Linked DNA regions of Homo sapiens: all the other regions are linked to region 3. The links are contacts of gene promoters, found by promoter capture Hi-C in human tissues and cell types (Jung and others, 2019). All regions are on one chromosome and are shown on one strand. The core of a region is centred on a gene start or on the middle of the fragment in contact, and the rest is flanking DNA. Distances in the headings are between cores, read along the strand shown. Region 1 overlaps BTF3L4 (basic transcription factor 3 like 4). Region 2 overlaps NRDC (nardilysin convertase). Region 3 holds the start of RAB3B (RAB3B, member RAS oncogene family).

Region 1 (2,999 bases), core at 119-2,618, 71 kb before region 3:
AAAATCATGAATCTGAGGGTTATCCTAGATTCTTCTGCATGCCCTTTACCCCCCATATCCCATCAGTCACTAAATCGTGTCAATTCCAACTCCTAAATTTGTATCCCATATAATAGAGGTCCCCAACCCCCAGGCCACTGACCAGTACCAGTCTGTGACCTGTTAGGAACACGGCAGCACAGCAGAAGGTGGGGTAGGGGGCATGAGCGAGCATTACTGCTTGGGCTCCACAGCCAGTCAGATCAGCGGCAGCATTAGATTCTCATAGGAGGGCGAACCGTTGTGAGCTGCGTATGCGAGGAAACTAGGATGCGCACTCCTCATGAGAATCTAACTAATGCCTGATGATCTAAGGTGGAACAGTTTTATCCCAAAACCATCATCCTCCCATCCGTGGAAAAACTGTCTTCCACGAAACCAGTCCCTGGTGCCAAAAAGATTGCGGACTGCTGCCTTAGACTCTAGCAATAGCGTCTCAATTGTTCGCCTATAGGCCAAACTTCCATTTTGTTCCATTTTCCACAACGCCAGCAGCTACCTTTCTAAAATGGCAGTCATTTCCTTCTTAAAATCCTTTAATAGTTGCCCACTGCCTATAGGATAAAACTCCAAGCTCCTTAGTATGGCATATAAAAGTATAATGGAATCCCAAACTACCTGGTCATTTCATTTCCTGCCATTCTCTATCCATTACGTACACTAAAGAACAGCTGTACCGGCCGAGCGCGGTGGCTCACACCTGTAATCCTAGCACTTTGGGAGGCTGAGGCGGGCAGATCATAAGGTCAGGAGTTTGAGACCAGCCTGACAAACATGGTGAAACCAAGTCTCTACTAAAAATACAAAAATTAGCCAGGCGTGGTGGCGCGTGCCTGTAATCCCAGCTACTCAGGAGGCTGAGGCAGGAGAATCGCTTGAACCCAGGAGGTGGAGGTTGCAGTGAGCCGAGATCACGCCACTGCACTCCAGCCTGGGTGACAGAGTGAGACTCCGTCTCAAAAAAAAAAAAAAAAAAAAAAGGCCGAGGCGGGCGATCACGAGGTCAGGAGATCAAGCAAGACCATCCTGGCTAACATGGTGAAACTCTGTGTCTACTGAAAAAAATACAAAAAATTAGCCGGGCATGCTGGCGGGTGCCTATAGTCCCAGATACTTGGGAGGCTGAGGCAGGAGAATGACATGAACCTGGGAGGCGGAGATTGCAGTGAGCTGAGATTGCGCCACTGCACTACAGCCTGGGCGACAGAGAGAGATTCCATCTTAAAAAAAAAAAGAGGCCGGGCACGGTGGCTCACGCCTGTAATCCCAGCACTTTGGGAGGCCGAGATGGGCAGATCACCTGAGGTCAGGAGTTCAAGATCATCCTGACCAACATGAAGAAACTCCATCTCTACTAAAAATACAAAAATTCAGCTGGGCATGGTGGCATATGCCTGTAATCCCAGCTACTCAGGAGACTGAGGCAGGAGAATTGCCTGAATCCAGGAGGCGGAGGTTGCAGTGAGCTGAGATCGTGCCATTGAACTCCAGCCTGGGCAACAAGACCAAAACTCCGTCTCAAAAAAAAAAAAAAAAAAAAAAGAATAGCTGTACCATATTAAAGCAAGCCATTCCATTAAGTACTGTGTTATCTTAGCACCATATGTGCCTTTGCAAGTATGGAAATGACAACCCTTTTTACTCTATCTCATGAACCCTCTTACCTATTTCTTTTTTTTTTTTTTTTTTTGAGACGGAGTCTTGCTCTGTTGCCCAGGCTGGAGTGCAGTGGTGCAATCTTGGCTCACCGCAACTTCCACCTCCCGGGTTCAAGTGATTCTCCTGCCTCAGCCTCCCAAGTAGCTGGGACTACACGTATGCGCCACCACACCAGGCTATTTTTGTACTTTTAGTGGAGACAGGGTTTCACCATGTTGGCTAGGCTGGTCTTGAACTCCTGACCTCAACTGATCCACCCACCTCAGCCTCCCGAAGTGCTGGGATTACAGGCGTGAGCCACCACCCATTACCTTTCTGCCAGCCATTACCTTTTCGCCTAGTGATAAATTGTTTATCCTTTAAACAAGAGCTCAGTGATAACTTCCTTGTCTCCACTAGGCAAGAGTACCTTGTACTTCATTATAACACTCACTATTCTGCGTTATAATTGTGAGCATCTCTCTCCCAAGCAGAGCTGTGATCTTGTTTATCTTCTATGTGCTGGCACACAGTAGGTGCTCAATATACAACAGCTAAATCGAATGTACCAACCACAGTTTTAAAATACACAATGGCGATGTGGTACATCAAGCTCTTCTAGGTATATTCTATGGTTCTTGAATATCCCTAGTTTCTGCATTGGCACATCACATCACACTTGATGCTACAATGTGACTACTGTGGTTACATGAGTGTGTTATTCTAACTCCAGACTCATATAACTGTATCACTGTGGGAGAAGGAGAAAGTACTGGCTCTTCTTCCCTTCCCTTCCCTTGTGCTCATCCCCAGGAACTGTGGTTATCATCAGTGTAAATGACACAGTGGGACCCACTACAAAAAGTAGTGTCCTACCTACCACTTCAGGTCTGAGGTAAGTACTATTCTTTCTTTCACTTTTGCAAAGATTGTGTTGGGCAGAGATATGGGTAGAATATTCTCCTTGAGCCTGGTGCCACAGCTGAAGAGAATCAAAGACTTCAGTTGCTCACAACTAGTTCTTCCTTAGGCTTTAAAAAGTACAGGGAATAAGAAAGCTGATATTCATATTCACCAACATGGAAGAACAGGTAAGAATTTGTGAGGAAAACCTGGCAATGAACAAAATATATAATCAACTTAAGCATCTCCAGCTAAACCTCTGTACAAGTAGGTAACATCCAGTCAAGACAAAGTAACCCTAACATCTGGTATGCCCTGCAAGTGAGTCTAACCATAATAATAGCTATAATTTATTAAGCATCTACTCTGTGCTAGACACCACATTAGGTGTTTTATAAATATTACCCTAATCTTTAAAC
Region 2 (2,700 bases), core at 22-2,521, 120 kb after region 3:
CTATTATGCTTTTTTAGGGATCTGTATTAAATGCTTACCAAGTATTGATTCCCTTCCCTTCTGGAAGGGTTAAGGGACTTCAGGTTGGGAATTGATATTCAAATTTTTATTGGTGTTGAGTGGAAATTCTGGTTGGGCAGGATTAGTAGTGGTGTATTCTATTTATTTTTTATTTTTATTTTTATTTTTGAGGCAGGGTCTCACTTTGTAACCCAGGCTGGAGTGCAGTGGCGCCATCACGGCTCACTGCAGCCTCGACCTCCCAGGCTTAGGTGATCCTTCCACCTCAGGCTCTCCAGTAGCTGGGACTACAGGCACGTGCCATCATGCCCAGCTAAGCTTTTGTAGAGATGAGATTTCGCCATTTTGCCTAGGCTGGTCTCAAACTCCTGACCTCAGATGATCTGCCCTCCTTGGCCTCCCATAGTGCTGGGATTACAGGCACAGGTGAGCCACTGCACCTGGCCTGGCTGTGGTGCATTCTGAATAGTAAATTTTAACAATGAAGAACACTTAACGTTAGGTATTTTGGATTGACTAAAACAAGTACAGAGCACTTTCCATGTTTAACCTGCTCGTAAAAAGACCTGTATTTCTATGGAGAAGGAAAGAACAAATGAAAAGGTATGTAAACTTCTTTTTTTTTTTTTTTAATGATTAAAAAAAATTTTGAGACAGGATTTCAATTCATCGCCCAGGCTGGAGTACAGAGGCACCATCACAACCTGCCCCACCATGTCCGGCTAATTTTTTGTAGAAATGGAGGTGGTGGTGGGGGCAGGTGTCTCACCAAGTTGCCCAGGCTGGTCTCGAACTCCTGACCTCAAGAGATCTGCCTGCCTCTGCCTCTCAAAGTGCTGGGATTACAGGTGTGAGCTACCACGCCCTGTCGAAAAGGCATATAAACTTCTGAAGGGCAAGTCCTTCTAATTTAAATTTTGGTCAGACTGTTACAAGTGAGGAGATGGTTATCTTAATAAATTTTCAGGCTGGGCGTGGGGGCTCACGCCTGTAATCCCAGCACTTTGGGAGGCGGAGGTGGGTGGATCATCTGAGGTCAGGAGTTCAAGACCAGCCTGGCCAACATGGTGAAACCCTGTCGCTACTAAAAATAAAAAAATTAGCCAGTTGTAGTGGCAGGTGCTTGTAATCCCAACTACTTGGGAGGCAGAGGCAGGGGAATCGCTTGAACTTGGGAGGCAGAGGTTGCAGTGAGCTGAAATTGTGCTACTGCATTCCAGCCTGGGCAACAGAGCAAGACTCTGTCTCAAACATAAATAAATAAATAAATAAATAAATAAATAAATAAATAAATAAAAATTCCATATATTATAGAAAATAATGGGTGGGTGTGTGCTGAATAAGGTACAGGCTATTTCTGAATATTATGTTGTTTACTATTATATGCTGTGGAACAGGAGGAGGATCACAATTCCAGTGAGTGGAACAGTTGCATTGAGAACACTAACATTTGTTGGCTTCCTGAATAGTTTGCTAGTGAAGTGGCTCACTTCTGAGCAGAAGCCTTTTGCTCACTTTGGCAGCACGTATACTGAGCAGAAGCCTTATACAAATCTGAGGTATCAGAAGAAAACTATACACCAGAAAACAAGAGAACTTTTTTTTTTGTATTGGATGGGAAGAACATAGGTTTATTTGTTGATATTTACAATGAAAACTCCTGGAACCGTAATGCTTCATTCAATACATGAGCCAGTAATTTCATTTGTGTGTGTTTCATTTCACACACACACAGACACACAAATATTGCTAAAATGATCACAAAATCTCACAGCTACAAAAGAAATCATTATGACTTCCATGTGTGTAAATTCCATGAGATTGACAATTCCTTAGTCTGATAACAAATGAACAAGTGAATCCAAATTTCTTTTTGTTTTGCACTCTCACTTGTCTTGTAAAGTAAAGGTAACCTAGGTATTACTTCACGAGATTCAAACTCATTTAACAAAGTAAGTGCTTTTAAGATTGAAATATGTTAAATCTTATGAATACTAGTATAACTTTAATAAACATATCTTTTGTCTCTTACTATTCCTTAGACTGATTTCCTTATTTTGTTTTGTTTTGTGTTTGAGACAGTCTGGGTCTGTCACCCAGGCTGGAGTGCAGTGGTGTGATCTCAACTCACTGCAGCCTCCACCTCCCAGGTTCAAGCCATCCTCCCCACCTTGGCCTCCTAAGTAGCTGGGACTACATGTGCACACCATCATGCCCAGCTAATTTTTGTCCTTTTTTGTAGAGTTGGGTTTCGCTCTGTTGCCCAGGCTAGTCTCAAACTCCTGAGCTCAATCAGCCCACCTTGGCCTCCCAAAGTGCTGGGAGTACTGGCATGAGCCACTGCACCGGGCCTGACTGATTTCTTTAAAGTGGGCTGATGGGCTAGTAAGAATAGAAAGAGTGTATATTGTTTCTAACTGAAGTTGTGTGTGTGTGTGTATGTCTGTGTGTTTTAGGAAAATAAGATTTAGCATTAAAAAGCTCTCTGTTGGCCAGGTGCAGTAGCTCACACCTGTAATCCTAGCACTTTGGGCGGCCAAGGCAGGAAGATCACCTGCCTCTGTCTCAAAAAAACAAAACCAGAACAAAAAACTCTCTGTTTTTCTGACTGGGCGCCGTGGCTCACGCCTGTAATCCCAGCACTTTGGGAGGCTGAGGCTGGTGGATCACGTGAGGTCA
Region 3 (3,015 bases), core at 136-2,635:
AGTGTGGGGAAAGACAATGATTCTAGAGCAAGCCTTCAGCTGGCTCCTGTGACCTCAGGAAGACTGGAAGTCCATATCAGGATTTGAGGGTGGGGTATTTATTGCCTCCTCTATCTGCCTCCTCTAGTGGAAGTGGGACTTCCTAGGGCCAGGCCAGGCAAGAACATTTTTCTACTCCTGTTGACAGCCTCCTGGTAATGGGAAACCATTGAGAGGTTTTTGTTTGTTTGTTTGTTTGGTTTTTGATGGAGTCTGGCTTTGTTGCCCAGGCTGGAGTGCACTGCTGGAGTGCAGTGATCTCGGCTCACTGCAACCTCTGCCTCCTGGGTGCAAGCAATTCTGCCTCAGCCTCCCAAGTAGCTGGGACTACAGGCATGCACCACCATGCCCGGCTAATTTTTGTATTTTTAGTAGAGACAGGGTTTCACCATGTTGGCCAGGTTGGTCTCGAACTCCTGACCTCAAGTGATCTGCCCACTTTGGCCTTCCAAAGTGCTGGGATTACAGGCGTCAGCCACTGTGCCTGGCCGAGAGTTTTCTTAAACAAGGTTGATGGTAACATGGTGACATTTTTTAAAGGGTTGCTCGGGCTTGTGTCAAAATGATTTTGGTATCTGACTCAGAATGAATGGGACCAGGAAGTCTCACAGCTACCGAAGTCACCAGGAGTATGGCAGAACAGGGGCTAGTTAGGATGACCATGGGCCAGGGGCTGCAATCTTTAATGCATAAGGAACAATTGGGTGTCAGTGATGAGGAGGGGTGGAGGGTGGTATGACTGGAGACCACAGGAGAAAGAATTTTTGTACAAGGGTGGAAATGGCCATGCTGACACCACGTCCTGGTTTTATAGGGTGAATTGGAGAGTGAAGGCAGGAATTAGGAAGCTGTTGCATTAGTCCAAGCAAGAAGTGATGATGCTGGAGTCAGAACAAGGGCAATGGAGACACAGAGGAAGGGCAGGGATATGTTAAGGCGGTGGGATGTGGGGTGTGAAGGAAACACAGATAGGGTAGAGGACAGCGTCCAGGTTTCTGGCTTGGTTTCCGCTTGTAGTCAGCCTCCCTCTCTGGGCTTTTGTGAAGACGGAGCCATAGAACGGACCGGACCAGAAAGCAGTTTGGAAATGGCAAAACTGCTACCCATCATCAGCTACATTATCATCAAAGCTCTCTAATTACCCTAGTAAGTTCAGTCAATGGAACGAGGCATGACAATTAAGATAAATCACGAGAGTCACCCAGACATGGGGGACCTGGAGGTCCTGAGTCACCTCGGATTACACCTGCTAGGAGTTGAGGGCCGGGGCGGGGCGAACACAGACTCCGCCCTTGGGCGGGGCCTGGATGCGGCCGGAGCGGAGCAGTGCTGGAGCGGGAGCCTCAGCCCTCAGGCGCCACTGTGAGGACCTGACCGGACCAGACCATCCCGCAGCGCCCCGCCCCGGCCCCCTCCGCGCCCTCCCGACGCCAGGTCCTGCCGTCCCGCCGACCGTCCGGGAGCGAACCCGTCGTCCCGCACTCGGAGTCCGCGGTAAGGGGCGCGGCCCCGGCAGCCCGCCCGCGGAGGATCAGGGACCGATCCCCGGCGCGGGGCGCTGGGCACCGAGAGCGGGCGCCGAGAAGGAGCGCGGGGCAGCGGAAGGAAGCCGGGGGAGGAGCGAGGGAGGGGGCTCCGCGGCGGCAGAGGTGGGGCTCACCTAGGGAGGGGGCGCCGAGGGGGTCTCCCAGACGTTGGGGGCAGCCGGGGGAGCTCCAAGGGCGGGAGGGGAGCAAGAAAGACGGCGCTGGGGCTGGGAGGAGAGATGGGGGGCAACTGGAGGGCAGTGAGGGATCGCTGGGGGAAACGGGGGCGTGGGGGGCGGGGGAGCTGCGAGGAGGGCGGAGTGGGGCTGTGCGGAAAGGTGGTACCGGGCAGCCGAGGGGCAGCGAAGGGGGCGGTGAAGGGAGCGGACTGAGGGGAGCTAGAGCGGGGGTGCGGGGGGAGGCATGGAGGTGAGGAGCTGAGGGGAGGGGACTGGCTGGGCGGGGGTCGTTTGGAGCTGGAGGGGACTGAGGTGCCGAGGGCAAGGGGCGCTGGGCAGCTGGGGAGTGTCTGGTTGGGAGAGGGTCGGGGGTGGGGATGTGGGTATGGATAGCTGGGAAGGAGAAAGGCAGCAGGGCAGTGTCTGGTCGAAAGAGGGTCATTTATGGGGGATGTGGGTATGGATAGCTGGGGTCGGAGGTTGAGCCCGGCTGGGGACCGGCGTGGGGGTAACTGTAGATGGAAGACGAGGGGTGGGGCTTGGGGGCGGGAAGCTTGGGAGAATGGAAGGGTGAGAGGCCAGGTTGGGTCTACCCTGCTGCAGAGGAAGGGGGCAGGGAGCCGGTGGAGACACAGGGAAGTGGCCTTGGAAATGGACACAGGGGCCTACATTCTGGTCAGGAGTGGAGAGGAGGCTCTGGAATAGAGTAGGGTCTGGCGGCTGCAAGTGGAGGAATCGTGGGAGAACTTGGAGTGTATAGATAGGGTGGTGGGGCGCTGGGTCAGCCTGGGGAGGAGGCCAGGTGTGGGTCGTGGTGTAAGGGTGGAAAGGTAATGGGGGCTGGAGTGGTGTCCACGCACTAGCGGTGTCTCGGCCACTCAGGAGTCCAAGGAGGGGACCCAGGCACTGGACCTTGTTACACGGGCACCGGGGATCACAGAAAATAAGAGAATCGTGGACAGAAAAAGTCATCCAACTCTGTTCTGTAGTCCAAGCATGGAAGCAACTTTGGGGAGGGCAGGGCAGCAGCCTTTGGAAGCTAAGAGAGATGTGGAGGAGGTGGGAGAAAGATGGGCCCTCAAAACACACACACACACACACACACACACACACACACACACACACACACACAAAACAAGATGGGCCCTCTTCCCCCGGCTTCCTGGAATCCAGATGGAAAGGGGTGGGAGACAGTAAAAGGAGAGGATGTGTGTGTGTGTGTGTGTGTGTGTGTGTGCGCGCGCACAGGTGGGTGTCCACCTGTTCTGTGC

The links. Contacts are between HindIII fragments. The study calls those that stand out against the background at their distance.
Region 1: a fragment that was not itself captured here is called in contact with the fragment with the promoter of RAB3B in region 3 in 2 of the 25 tissues and cell types used here (ovary and thymus).
Region 2: a fragment that was not itself captured here is called in contact with the fragment with the promoter of RAB3B in region 3 in 5 of the 25 tissues and cell types used here (IMR-90 fibroblasts, lymphoblastoid cells, mesendoderm cells and 2 more).

What each region holds. Positions count from the first base shown.
Region 1 is chr1:52,060,218-52,063,216 of GRCh38, reverse strand. The region is part of intron 2 of BTF3L4 (basic transcription factor 3 like 4); the gene reads right to left. Among named protein-coding and RNA genes, the nearest start is that of BTF3L4, 5.4 kb to the right of the region's middle. The HindIII fragment of the contact is 4,475 bases long and covers 1-2,999 here.
Region 2 is chr1:51,872,098-51,874,797 of GRCh38, reverse strand. The region is part of intron 1 of NRDC (nardilysin convertase); the gene reads left to right. Among named protein-coding and RNA genes, the nearest start is that of NRDC, 5.3 kb to the left of the region's middle. The HindIII fragment of the contact is 5,458 bases long and covers 1-2,700 here.
Region 3 is chr1:51,989,070-51,992,084 of GRCh38, reverse strand. It overlaps RAB3B (RAB3B, member RAS oncogene family), which reads left to right and starts at 1,385. Exons shown (of 5, transcript NM_002867.4): 1 at 1,385-1,533. RefSeq lists a silencer at 1,362-1,471. The HindIII fragment of the contact is 14,307 bases long and covers 1-2,813 here.